Linked DNA regions of Homo sapiens: regions 1 and 2 are each linked to region 3. The links are contacts of gene promoters, found by promoter capture Hi-C in human tissues and cell types (Jung and others, 2019). All regions are on one chromosome and are shown on one strand. The core of a region is centred on a gene start or on the middle of the fragment in contact, and the rest is flanking DNA. Distances in the headings are between cores, read along the strand shown.

The links. Contacts are between HindIII fragments. The study calls those that stand out against the background at their distance.
Region 1: a contact is called between the fragment with the promoter of STAT3 here and the fragment with the promoter of KCNH4 in region 3, in 2 of the 25 tissues and cell types used here (heart right ventricle and mesendoderm cells).
Region 2: a contact is called between a fragment that was not itself captured here and the fragment with the promoter of KCNH4 in region 3, in 3 of the 25 tissues and cell types used here (aorta, neural progenitor cells and spleen).

The regions. Positions count from the first base shown.
Region 1 is chr17:42,386,391-42,391,038 of GRCh38, forward strand. It overlaps STAT3 (signal transducer and activator of transcription 3), which reads right to left and starts at 2,052. Exons shown (of 24, transcript NM_139276.3): 1 at 1,889-2,052. RefSeq lists silencers at 1,393-1,472, 1,703-1,982 and an enhancer at 2,503-2,772. The HindIII fragment of the contact is 15,490 bases long and covers 1-4,648 here.
Region 2 is chr17:42,337,837-42,342,148 of GRCh38, forward strand. STAT3 (signal transducer and activator of transcription 3) reads right to left here. Exons shown (of 24, transcript NM_139276.3): 5 at 1,478-1,573; 6 at 895-976; 7 at 1-21. Among named protein-coding and RNA genes, the nearest start is that of STAT3, 48 kb to the right of the region's middle. RefSeq lists a silencer at 1-17. The HindIII fragment of the contact is 7,087 bases long and covers 1-4,312 here.
Region 3 is chr17:42,178,996-42,183,653 of GRCh38, forward strand. It overlaps KCNH4 (potassium voltage-gated channel subfamily H member 4), which reads right to left and starts at 2,147. Exons shown (of 17, transcript NM_012285.3): 1 at 1,875-2,147; 2 at 1-31. The coding sequence starts at 1,950. RefSeq lists an enhancer at 540-1,107 and silencers at 2,057-2,296, 2,303-2,578. The HindIII fragment of the contact is 13,187 bases long and covers 1-4,658 here.

The DNA of each region.
Region 1 (4,648 bases), core at 802-3,301, 210 kb after region 3:
TTGGCCTCAATTTTCTTATCTACGATATTAGGGTAATTGTTATGTGAACTACCCACCTCACAAGTCCTTTGTGGGTTAATTCATAACTGTGCTGTGGGTATTTCTTTTTCTTTCCTTTCTTCCTCCTTTCCTTTCTTTCTTTCTTAAAGATGGGTTCTCATTATGGTGCTTAGACTAGACTCTAGACCCAATTCCTGGCCTCTCACCATGTTGCCCAGACCAGACTCAACTCCTGGACTCAAGGAATCCTCCCACCTCAGCCTTCAATTAGCTGGGATCAGAGGTGTGCACCACCATGCCTGGCACTGTGGATATTTCTAAGTGATTATTCTTCTCAAATGAACTACATAAAAAACAAAAGATTCATGAATTTACTAATGGTTCTTTGTGATGGATGTGCTAATATAGAGACTAAAATCAAGGCTCCAACCTCTAAAACATTTTTTTTTAAATTCCAGACTTGTTTCCCCATCCCACTGTGCAAACTGAACAAAAACTGGGCTAGCACTCCTGTCTGGAACATGTAATAAGGAAATAAATGTGCTGACTCAGAGAACACAGACATATTTAATATAAAATAAGATAGAAAACTGGCTGAACCAAGTCATAACACAGTCTAAATCCACATATAAAAGATTGAGATGATTTTCTGCTTTGCTTTATTCAAGCCCAATGCTTTATCAGCACAGCCAGCCAAAAATTTACAACCCATACACAGACTATGTAAACCTTTAGTTGCACATACAGTAAGACCAGCAGGTACACACTATACACATTTTTAATTAAAAAAATGACTAACCACTGATTTTGTCACCACACTTAACAACGACCTGATATGGCACAGAGTGATGTGTACCAAACATGGAAATACCAACTTGGGCGACGGTTTGAATCTTGTTAACTTCAGTGCAACCACACCCCCCAAATGCATGTAAAGTTTGCACACATGGTTTTTTCAAGGCCAGCCTGTCTTTGTTTCCCTCTCCTCTGCATTTACCCAAGATCTTGGCTCTGAGACAGAAAACTCCCACTCTCAATTGGTTCATTCCGTCCTATGCAATTAAGCAACACCACAATCCAGTAAATGCAATGGCTCAATTATTTATCTTCTGGCCGACTTTACCAGGTATTTGGAAAAGGACAATGTCAAGAGGTTTATTTCTCTCTCTAGAGCTGGCTTGACGGGTTGATGGGGATTTTATTTTGTCTTTTTTTCTCTTTTTTACAAGGCGGGGACGTGGGGGGAGCATAATTTAACCTAGAAAAAGATGCGAGGGAATTTAGAAAGAGTACCGGTCTGTCAATTTCCCTACAGGAAACTTGATTCTTATGCAATAAAGCCTACCCACGACCAGCCAGCCCGTAAGGCTGCAGGCGACAGACACACCTATTCCTGCCTCCAAAAGGGCACAGCTGTCTCCTGAAGGAGCGGGAACAGGGCAAGCGGAGGAAGTGGCTCAGCGGGAGCCGCCGACCGGGCGGGGAGGAGGCGCTTTCCGACCCCCCACTCGCGCCGGTGATCCCCGTCGGCGTGACAGTCGCTCCGGTGGCCGGAACGTCCCCAGGGCCCCAGGGAGCAGGAAATCGGGGGACTGTCCCTCACTCCTGCCGCCGCAACCGAGTGCGCCCTCGCCCCACGGTGCCCCCTCGAGCGCGTTCTGTTTCTCCGAAGAACGAAACTTCCCTCCAGCGCCCCGAGTCCCTTCCGAGGCCCGCTCCTGTCATCCCGAAGAGTCTTCCCTCAGGGCGACCCTCCGCGTCTCTTCATCTCTCCCGGCCCCACTGCAGCGTCCATCACAACATCCCCAAGGTCCCAGAGGCCCCCTGCCGCTGCGGAGCCCCCGGGTCCCCAGGCCTCCCCAACGGCCCCACCCTGCACCCCCTTCACCTGTTTCTCCGGCAGAGGCCGAGAGGCCGGGGCTGCGCGTGTGCCGGGGACGGGCGGCGAGGCTCCCTCAGGCCGAAGGGCCTCTCCGAGCCGAGGGGGAGAGACAGCGCCAAGCCGGGGTGCCTGTCCAGGATCCGGTTGGGGCTTGTTCCCTCGGCTGCGACGTCGGAACCCCCGGCTCCCCCTCCCAGTCTGCGCCGCCGCAGCTCCGGAAACCGCTGAATTACAGCCCCTTCAGCCAATCCTCGCCCAGCCCCAGCCTGGCCGAGGCACGCCGTCATGCATAATTCATGAAAGGCCAGCTCGTTCGGCCACCCAGAGGTCCCAGTGCGTGTGCGGTACAGCCGAAGCCCCGCCCACTGACCAATGAGGAGAGCAGCTAGGAGAAAGGGCGGAGCCAAGAGGAGACTGATACGCCCCTGTGCTGGCTGTTCCGACAGTTCGGTGCTCCTCCCTCCGCCACAGCGAGGGAAGAGCCGAGGACTTGGGCACAGAAGCCCGGGGGGAGGGAGGGAAGATGACCGGAATGTCCTGCTGAAAACTCAGCTGAGTTCCTGGCAGTGCGTGACGTCAAGGCACTTTAAATGCCCCTGATACAGCTCCCTCCTGCCCGCTCTCCCTTTTCCCGGCCCTTGGCACCACGTGGTGGCGAGGTTGAGAGCCTCTTACCACGCGGGAATCAGCTAGTTAGATAGTCCCCAGGTATCTCCAGATCCTCTGGGGACCCAACTCCTGAATTGGGTTCTGGGGACAACAAAAAGAACATGGGTGACTCCGCCTGCTTTGAACTTCAGTTTCTGCGTGAGCAGGGACACACACACCCGGAAACATGACGTGGAAATAGAGTAATTACTAGAGTGCGTGGGGAGAGGGTAGTGGATTTAACCCCGTACTCCGTTCCATCACTTCAAGCATCAAACGCCGACCAGCTAGCCCATTGGCCCGTACAGGCGAATGCAGAAGACGGTGTATACGAAAGCTGATAACGTGTAGGGCTTGACATTTTTATGCGTCTGAATTGAAATACATGAAATGTTCTGCCTTTTTCTTTTCCACCTTGCCTACTTGGTATGCAAGTTTTACTGAATTGAAGCCAGTGGTTGATAGGAAATGTAGACATTTTGCCTTTCATAATAGAGGATGAACTTTGCATAATGGAGTGATTTCTGTGTATGTGCTGATACTATCAGGGTTTTTAATTTTTATTTTTTTGGGTCTTTAAAAATATGTTATTAATATTTGTGTTTGTTTAATACGAACAGGTATAAAGACAAAAATCTAAAAAGGACCCATTATCTCACTGCTCAGCTAACCCCTGACATATTTTTTTTCAATGAACCTAATACATGTTCCTGTTTAGAAAATGCAGACCGTTCAGAAAGGTCAAAAATATTAAATGAAAATCTTTCCCTACCCCCATCATTCCTTCTCCCCAAGGATAGCTGTTCTTATTAATTTCTAGTGAGAAAAATCAATGACTCTTAACCTTTGAAGGCAGTCACAGATCCTTCTGAGTGTTTGAAGGAGACTAGATTCTAGCCCCAGAAACAATACAAGGTTTTACTCACATGGTTCCCCAGATACCTGAAGCCTGTCTAAGTCTACAGATTCAGACCGCTCGTACCACCTCATATCCAATGAGGGACAGAGGCATCTACAGGGCAATTCATAGGGTCACTGGTGGTGAGAATTGAGAACCTCCTATTGCCCTCTGGTAGACACAGCTCAGTATGGAAATTGCTGTATTTACCTGTAGAGTGTGTGTGTATTGATTAGGCTGTTTATCTACACCACAGGACAGATATCCCCCATCTCCGCCTATAGTCTCTTGTAACTACGCTATCCCGTGCGGCCAACTGCCTCCCTGATAACATAGGGTCTAGGATTTGTTTAGTGATTTACTGCTTACAAAGGACTTACACACCTTATACACTCCCTGCCTGGTTTCTTTCTCACAATCATGAATAGCAGATAGGAGAGGCCATATTATCCGCTGATAGAAAACTAAAGACAACATAATATGACATTTTCAAGATCACAGAGAAACTCAGAAATATACCAGGTTCAGAGTCAGGTTTGGGGGCTTTACGTCCCATAGCTTTGTTCCATTCATTCAAACCCTGCCCTGCTTCTGACTTCTCAAGAGCTGGCCTCTGTTTCCCTCATTGGCCTCCCCACCAGTAACACATAAAATCTACCTCTGCGACTATGGGTTTGACCTGCAAAAATTCTCTTCAGCCCAGACACTGGCCTTTCTCCACAACCCCGCCAAATTCCTCTTGGCTAAATGCTGCAATTTCTGTCCCTTGGGCCACTGCCTTAACCACCTGATTATTCTCTCCTTATTCTATCCTATTCTTCCACTGGCTGCCAGGGACATCATCCTAAAAATTAAATAAATAAACATTCAGGCCAAGGCGGGTGGATCACAAGGTCAGTTCAAGACCAGCCTGGCCAACACAGTGAAACCCCGTCTCTACTAAAAATACAAAAATTAGGCTGGGCACTGTGGCTCACGCCTGTAATCCCAGCACTTTAGGAGGCTGAGGCGGGCAGATCACCTGAGGTCAGGAGTTCGAGACCAGCCTGACTAATATGATGAAACCCTGTCTCTACTAAAAATACAAAAATCAGCCAGTCATGGTGGCTTGCACCTGTAATCCCTGCTACTCGGGAGGCTGAGGGAAGAGAATCTCTTGAACCCGGGAGGTGAAGGTTGCAGTGAGCCGAGATCGCGCCATTGCATTCTAGCCTGGACAA
Region 2 (4,312 bases), core at 1-2,500, 160 kb after region 3:
TTCCATTCAGATCTTGCATGTCTGCGAAGGAAGAAAAAACTCCTTGACCTGAGGGAATACTCCTTGACCTGAGGGAATACTCCTTGACCTGAGGGAATACTCCTGGACCTGAGGGAATACTCCTGGACCTGAGGGAATACTCCTGGACCTGAGGGAATACTCCTTGACCTGAGGGAATACTCCTGGACCTGAGGGAATACTCCTGGACCTGAGGGAATACTCCTGGACCTGAGGGAATACTCCTGGACCTGAGGGAATACTCCTGGACCTGAGGGAATACTCCTGGACCTGAGGGAATACTCCTGGACCTGAGGGAATACTCCTGGACCTGAGGGAATACTCCTTGACCTGAGGGAATACTCCTGGACCTGAGGGAATACTCCTGGACCTGAGGGAATACTCCTGGACCTGAGGGAATACTCCTTGACCTGAGGGAATACTCCTGGACCTGAGGGAATACTCCTGGACCTGAGGGAATACTCCTGGACCTGAGGGAATACTCCTGGACCTGAGGGAATACTCCTGGACCTGAGGGAATACTCCTTGACCTGAGGGAATACTCCTGGACCTGAGGGAATACTCCTGGACCTGAGGGAATACTCCTGGACCTGAGGGAATACTCCTGGACCTGAGGGAATACTCCTGGACCTGAGGGAATACTCCTTGACCTGAGGGAATACTCCTTGACCTGAGGGAATACTCCTGGACCTGAGGGAATACTCCTGGACCTGAGGGAATACTCCTGTCCTTAATGACCAGGCTCCTTTGAGGACCCGTACCTCCCTTGCGCCCCGCCCGCCTTAAGATCTAAACAGAGTTAAGACAAATGAGTCTTTCAACTCAACAACACAAACTCACTTTCTAGAGATTTTAACATCTCTAATATTCACTTGCCTCCTTGACTCTTGAGGGTTTTATAGTTGAAATCAAAGTCATCCTGGAGATTCTCTACCACTTTCATTTTCTGTTCTAGATCCTGTTTAAAATAAGCAAACAAAAAAACAGAAGTAAAGAAAGATTTCCTTGGGAACAGAAAATATAAAGTTTCTGAGGAGAATTCAAATGAAGCCAAAACCTCAAAAAAGATACATGCAGGACCTGCAGGCAGTATCCCCAAGAGAAGGCTCCCTGTTGGCCAGGTGCAGTGGCTCACGCCTGTAATGCCAGCACTTTGAGAGGCTGAGTTGGGAGGATCACTTGAGCCCAGGAGTTCATGATCAGCCTGGACAACACAGGGAGACCCCCATCTCTACAAATTTTTTTTTTTTAATTAGCTGGGCGTGGTGGTGCATGCCTGTGGTCCCGGCTACTTGGGAGGATGAGGTAGGAGGATCGCTTGGGCCTGAGAGGTCGAGGCTGCAGTGAGCTGTGATCATGCCACTGCAGCCCAGCCTGAGTGGCAGAGCAAGACCCTGTCTCAAAAAAAAAAAAAAAAATTAATGAAAGCTCCCTGCCCGAGGCTTGTAACTTGCATCACCTGCACTCTCTTCCGGACATCCTGAAGGTGCTGCTCCAGCATCTGCTGCTTCTCCGTCACCACGGCTGCTGTGGGGTGGTTGGCCTGGCCCCCTTGCTGCCAAAAAGGAGGTCAATGCACATGTGAACACAGAACTATGGGGAGAGGAATACCTCTACCCAGCTTCCATCCCACCCTAACTACCCTTCTTGTTTGGCTTGAGACGCTGCTGCCATCACAAGAGGAAGGGAAACAGAGGCAGTGGTGCTGTCACTACACAGGTGACACTACACAGGTCATACCATAAACCCCCTTTATGGCACTAAGAGACCACATGTTCAGCTAAGACATGGTCTATGCCTTCAAAAACCTCATGGGCAAGTATGTCAAAAAATTCAAAACAATTTATGACAGCAGATGTTGGATGTCTACTTAAACGTGGTGTCCAGTATATTTCTGAGGGATAATAAAAAAAAAGTCCTGCCCTAGGGATGAAATTCCATATTAAAAGATATTATCTTGGGGAGAAGGGGAGGCTGGTACCTTGGAAAATGTCAAATAGCACATGGAAAAAGAAAAAGAAGAAAGAAGGCTGGATGTAGCAGCTCACACCTATAATATCAGCACTTGGGAAGGCTGAAGTGGGAGGACTGCTTGAGGCCAGGAGTTCAAAACTAGCCTAGTCAACATAGTGAGGCCCCATCTCGAATGAATAAATGAATGAATGAATTAAAGAAATAACAAAAAATAAATAGCATATGAAACTTAAAAATTACAGGTTCGTGCCAGGTGCGGTGGCTGATGCCTGTAATCCCAGCACTTTGGGAGGCCAAGGTGGGCAGATTACCTGAGGTCAGGAGTTTGAGACCAGCCTGACCGACACGGAGAAACCCATCTCTACTAAAAATACAAAGTTAGCTGAGCTTGGTGGTGCATGCCTGTAATCCCAGCTACTCGGGAGGCTGAGGAAGGAGAATCGCCTGAACCCGGGAGGTGGAGGTTGTGGTGAGCCAAGACTGCGCCATGCACTCCAGCCTGAGCAACAAAAGTGAAACTCCATCTCAAAAAAAAAAAAAAAAAATTACAGGCTTGGGCTAGGCATGGTAGCTCCCACCTATAATCCTAGCACTTTGGGAAACCAAGGCAGGAGGATCACTTGAGGCTGGGAGTTTGAGACCGGCCCAGGGAACATAGAAAGAGACCTCATCTCAACCAAAAAAAAAAAAAAATTTTTTTTTAACTAGCTGGGCATGGTGGCATATACCTGTAGTTCTAGCTACTTGGGAGGCTGAGGTGGGAGGATCATTTAAGTCCAGAAGTTTGAGGCCACACTACAGCCAGTTTTATGGGCAACCATTCTCTTCCTTTCCCATGGTCCCTATCCAAGCCCACAGAATACAAACTTCTTAGAAGTTTTGGGAAGGTGACCCATGCCCCTACTTCTTCCCACAGTGACAGTGACTCATCTGATTGGTAAGATGGAGAGAAAGACTCTGTGTACACACAGATCTTCAAAGAACCCAGCACCTAAGCTGGTGCCTCCCTCCTCTCACTCTTGCCTTCCTAGGGCCCACCATAAGCAAGAGCAGCAGCCTGGTTTCTAGAAGCAGGTCTAGAGGCCTATCCCTCTGCCTTGTTGGTCTATGGCAGCTGAAGCTCCATATGGATGGCTGGGGTGGGGTGGGGGTGCTGCTCTGCACATCCAGTCTCTCTACCCCAAGATCTAACTCAGGGCACAGGCATTGGAAAGCCCCTATGGTTACCAGCTCAAGCCACACTTTCCATTCTAGTTTTACCAACAATACAGCTGATGTTTTAACCTTCATTCCTTTCTCATGTCTATTTCTCAAGCAGGACTACACTTAAAGGGAGAAAACATGATTAACGATCACCCACAGAAACCCACCTCTAATACCTTCGTAAAAAACTGTATTGGCTCCCCACTGCTTCCAGCTATAAACATCTCAGGCCAACACAGAAAGCTGTTTCACACAATTGATAACTTCAACTTTCCCTCCCTGTGCCTTGGTCACCCCAGACTCCCAACTCTTCCCTGCATGCAGTGTGTTTCCACACTCTCTTCCCACCCGCTATCCACTCAGCATGGCCTGGGCTTCAGCCCAAACACACCTGAACTCACTCACCTTCAAATTCAGTTCAAATGTTTCTTTTCCTGAGAAATCTTATTCAACTTCCTTAGACAAAATGACACACATCCTTTTCTGTGTTTTTCTCACTTTGAGTGTTTGTGTACTTATAATCCCAACTAGCCTGACAGCCCTTGGTAGCAGGGATTACATCCACTCTTCTATCTTTAACCAATTCTAGACACTTAAGAGCATGCCAGGTATTGTAAACAGAAAAAATAGCAGTGAGGCCTGGGTTGAGGCCACAAATAACCAACTTATAGCTTTATATCAGGGGTTGCAAACTTTTTCTCTAAGGGACAGAGGGTAAATATTTTTGGTTTCCTGGGTCATACAGTCCCTGCCACAAATAGCCCTGCCACTGCAGCACCAAAGCAGCCACAGATAATGCATAAATAAATGAGTGTGGCTGGGTTCCGAAAAAACCTCATTTACAAAAACAAGCAGCAGGCTGGATTTGGGCCACGCTCACAGTTTGCAGACCCCTAATCCGTACGATTGAAAACATCCTTGGGATAACTTTGGCTTTCCTACCTCCCATGGTAAGTTGGAGCCTCTATCCAAATTGACTTAAACCACTTATTTTTATCTTGTGGAGCAGGATAAAATACAAAGGTTTTCCACAGCAGAAAATCCTAGTGCTGCCTGAGCAAATGCCTGTGTGCTAACCTCTTGGGCTACAGGGCACTGCACAGTAAGTGTTACCTAC
Region 3 (4,658 bases), core at 897-3,396:
CCCTGTGCGTTGGCCAGCAGGAAGTTGCTGTCTGTGGGAAGAAGAGGTCAAGGTCAGGTCAAGGCTGGGAGGCGAGCTAGCTTCCAGGTGGGCAGCACTTCCTCTAAGTTGGGGTTAGAAGTCACAGAGCCAGAAGCTTCCCAGGTTTCCATGTTGCTCCTGACCCCACTTTGGGATATTCTGAATTGAGAATTGGAGAAGTTGGAGCAAAGAGACAAGGACTTGAGACAGGACTTAAGCAGGGTCTAACGGGGAGTTGGAGAAGGACCCCAGGAGGTCATGCCATCCATCCCCCTGCCTTCCAACTGGTGAGCTGTCACTGTAGAAGGCAGTATAGCATGGTGAGTAAGAGCCTGGGCTCCTGCAACCCTCCACTGCCACTTACTAACTGTGTGACCTTGGGCAAGTTGATGACCTCTTCTGTGCCTAAGCTTTCCTTATTTGCAAAGTAGGGCATAATAGGCCTTCCTCACATGGTCGTTGTGAGAGTTACATGAGTTAACTTGGGGAGAACAAGTCCTAGCACATGGTAAGTGCTACTCTGAGAAGGTGAAATTTTTTCCCCACATTCACTTGGCTTTCTTCCTATTACAGAGTAAGCAGGGCAGAGATTCTGATGACACCACACCCATTTATTGATAGGAAACCAAAAGGCAGAGATTATCCAAACTCACAGATCTCCTTAGTGTGGGGGCAGACAGTGATGAGTGCTGTCTTCCTTCCCTGCCTTCCAGAGAAGGTCCACTTTTTAGCATTCTTGTAGCTGCTTTCAGGGGATCTGCCCCACTGCTCAAAGTCTAATGGGAGAGGGCATTGAGCGTATAGCTCCAGCAACCCCCAGCAGCAGAACCCGAGCTGTCTCCCTCCAGCTCCAATGGGTGGGAGGCCAGGGGGACTCCTGTGGGCCATCCAGGGACAGAGACTCAGCTAAGAGATGGGGCCTGTGACACAACCAGTCCTGGTGCTCTAGGAGGGATGACTGTCTGGGGGCAGGGAGGCTGATGGGGACACTGAAGGTGCCTGGGAGGCACTGGGCTCTGGGCACAGCCTCCTTCTTCCATCCCAGGGCCTGTTGCCCCGGTGATGGGCGCTATGGAAACAAGGTGGTGGGGAAGAGGGTAGGGCCCGGCGGCTCAGTTTCCGCCCTCGGGTACCGCTCCCCCACCATCCAGATCCCGGCCAGGGTTCCCGAGGGAATGGCGGGGTTGGGGGAGGTGAGGGCGGGGAATCTCTGGGTTCCAGAGTGGGAAGAGGGAATGGCGGGAGAAGAGGCGGGGGAGGAGTGATGTGGCTGTCCAAGGTGCTGAACCTGAAACCCAAGCTACGTTGGGCGAGCTGGGAGTTCCCACCGTCGCACAGACCGCTCCCCTCCTCCTGCCTCACCCACCTTAGACACTGACGCCCCACGATTTGGGGGCGCGCGACCTCAATCCAAACTAGGTCCTGCTGAAGTCTGATCTTTTCTCCTTTTTTTCTGGAGGTAGTGGGAGCTGGAGTCTGTGAGTAGACCCCAGAATGCCCGGCCACTTTGCCCCACTTCTGTGTCTCGGATACCCCCATACACGCCCCCAGCACAGCTCTGCCCGAGAGTGGGCGGCTCCGAAGGACCCTCCTCCGCTCTGCCGCACAAAGAGCCTCTTCTGCCTCGAGTCACACCCCCTAACCTTGGCCCCCGTGCTCTCGGCCCTTTCCCCTCCTCCCCTCGCAGGGCACTCCCCGCCCTGTTCCTGCACCGCGGCTTTGGGAGTTCCTAGACCCGCACCTCCATTCTCTCCCCTCGCCTCGGGTCTCACCATGTCCAGGAGATCCGAGACGGCCCCGAGGATACTTGCCCCCCAGCTCGAACCTCAAGCCCCGACCTCCGTCCCACTCACGCGTTCCGTCAAAACGGGTGGCGATGGTGTCCAGGAAGGTGTTTTGCGGGGCCAGCAACCCCTTCATGACCGGCATGGCCCCGGGGCGTGGGTTCAAGGCGCGGCGCTGGGGAGCTTTCAGCGCGGCCGGGCCGGAGGGGGCGCGCTGTCGGAGGGGCCGGGGCGCCCCATGCGCCCTCCTGCCTCCTCCCCTCCCTCTTACTGCCGCTGCCGCTGCCGCTGCCTCTGCTCCGAACCCCGTAGCTCTCGGCTCGGCTCAGCGCCGTTTCGGTCCCCCCCACCTCCCCACGGGCCAGGTTCTTCCCCTCGGGCTCGGCCCGCACCCGCCACGTGGCCCCACACGGGGAGGGGCCGCTAGCGACACCCGCACCCCTCTGGGCAGCCCTCCTCCCAGAGGGGAGCGGCCCACGCGTGTCTCTCGGGGAGAGAATTCGGGGCACGCCCACCGGGAGGGGAGGCCTGAAATGATGGGCGGGGCTTGAATAACAGACCCGCCCTCTTCCAGGCTGGCCACGCCTCCACACGTGGTTCCCTGGCTGCTCCTTGTGGCTCCACCTCGCGGGTTTTCCCGCGCGGCGTCCACGCTGGGCTGGTGTCTGGTTCACAGTGCCGCCTACTGGAGTTGACATATTTCGCAGCACCCACAGGCCAGTAGCTCCAGCGTGAGACAGCAAGGGTTAAGAGGCTAGTTTGCTGGTAGAGAATGGACAATGGGAAGGCTTGAAACCCCAACTCTAGAAAGCACCATTCTTACCTCCTGCCTCAGTTTTCCCAAGACACCCTGGCGAACTCTGCCTACTGAGACACAGCATGGTGGAATGAAAAGAGCTTTGGAGTCCACCAGGTAGAGTCCCAGCTCTAGACACCAATCGTGTGATATCCTCTCCAAGCCCACTTTCCTCATCTGTAAAATGGAGCTGATAATTCTTACCTGATGCAGTTACCGTGAGAATGTAATACCATAATGCATGTCTTTGGTACAAAATAAGTGTCTTGAAGGGCAGTTGCCTGCCTGTTTTCCCTCTTCCTACTGTCTTAATCCTCCTCTCTGCTGCCCTTCAAGTGGAAGAGAGGCTGGAGGCAAGTTTGGGAGAAACTACCTCTGAAAAAGATAGTTTCGAGGTGGGCAGAGTCATGGCTTGCAAATCTCCAAGGATGCACATGTGAACTTTGACCTCTAACTTCTCCAAGATGGAACCAGTACAGCAGCAAGAGGGACCAAAGTGAGACTAGACACAGGACTTTCTCACTACCTATGCAGAAAATTGAGGCAGCTGAGTTCTGTGGCTGAGGGTGGCTGCTTCCCACGACAAAACAGCTGAAGCAGTGAAAGTGGGAACCCTATGGGCAAGGAGGGCAGGCTAAATTCTCCCCACCCTCTGAGCTAGGTATTATCTGGGATGTTAGATTGCTAAGAAGTGCCACATTTTTCTGTGTCTCTACTTTTGTTGTTGTTGTTGTTCTTGTTGTTCTTGTTCTTGTTGTTTTTGAGACGGAGTCTTGCTCTGTTGCCCAGGCTGGAGTGCAGTGGCATGACCTCAGCTCACTGCAACCTCTGCCTCCTGGGTTCAAGCAATTCTCCCGCCTCAGCCTCCTTAGTAGCTGGGATCACAGGCGTGCATTACAATGCCCGGCTAATTTTTGTATTTTTAGTAGAGATGGGGTTTCGCCATGTTTGCCAGGCTGGTCTTGAACTCCTGACCTCAAGTGATCCGCCCGCCTCAGCCTCCCAAAGTGCTGGGATTACAGGCATGAGCCACGGAGCCTAGCCTGTGTCTCTACTTTTGGATGTTATATTAGTTTCCTAGGACTGCCATAACAAAGTACCACAAAGTGAGTGGCTCAAACAACAGAAACCTATTGTCTCACAGTTCTGGATGCTAGAAGTCCAAGCAAGGTCAGGTGAAGAGCGTTGGTTCCTTCTGAAGGCTATGAGGGAGAATCTGTTGCATGCCTCTCCCCTATCTTCTGGGGGTGGGGGTGCTGGCAATTTTTGGTGTTCCTTGGCTTGTAGGAGCCAATCTCTACCTTCATGTTCACATGGGTTCTCCCTGTGTGTGTTTCTGTGTTCCAATTCCCTTTTTTATAAGGACGCCAGTCACAGTGGATTAGAGGCCCACCCTACTCTAGTATGACCTCATCTTAACTAATTGCATCTGGAAGGACCTTATTTCCAAATACAGCCACATTCTGAAGTGCCACGGGTACGGACTTCAACATATGGATTTTGGGAACACCAGTAACAGGTGTCTTTGGCTGGAGTTGCAGTAAAATCTTGTACTGCCCCTGCTTAAGAATGTCCCATGACTCTGTTACCTACAAGATAAAGTGCAAAGCCCGATGATTTGTGAGAGCCTTTGCGAGCTGTGCTGCACTGACTGTAACTGTGTCCCTTCCTGAGCCTCTCCACTCCCCACACCCTATACCCCATGATGCAGCCATTCTGGATGACTCATTGTTGAAGTTCAAATTCCCTGCCTTTTCAGCAGGATTGACTCCCACCCCTTCCTAGCTGGATTCTGCTGCTCTATGCAGCTTGCCTGCCTTCCTTCCTTCCTTCCTTCCTTCCTTCCTTCCTTCCTTCCTTCCTTTCTTTCCTTTCTTTCTTTTCTTTTTTCTTTTTCTTTCTTTTTTTTTTTTTTTTGACAGTGCCTCCTTCTGTTGCCCAGGCTGGAGTGCAGTGGCCCAATTATGGCTCAAACTCAAACTCCTGGGCTCAAGCAATCCTCTCGCCCACCATACCCCGCTAATTAAAAAAACTTTTTGGAGAGATGTCTCACTCAC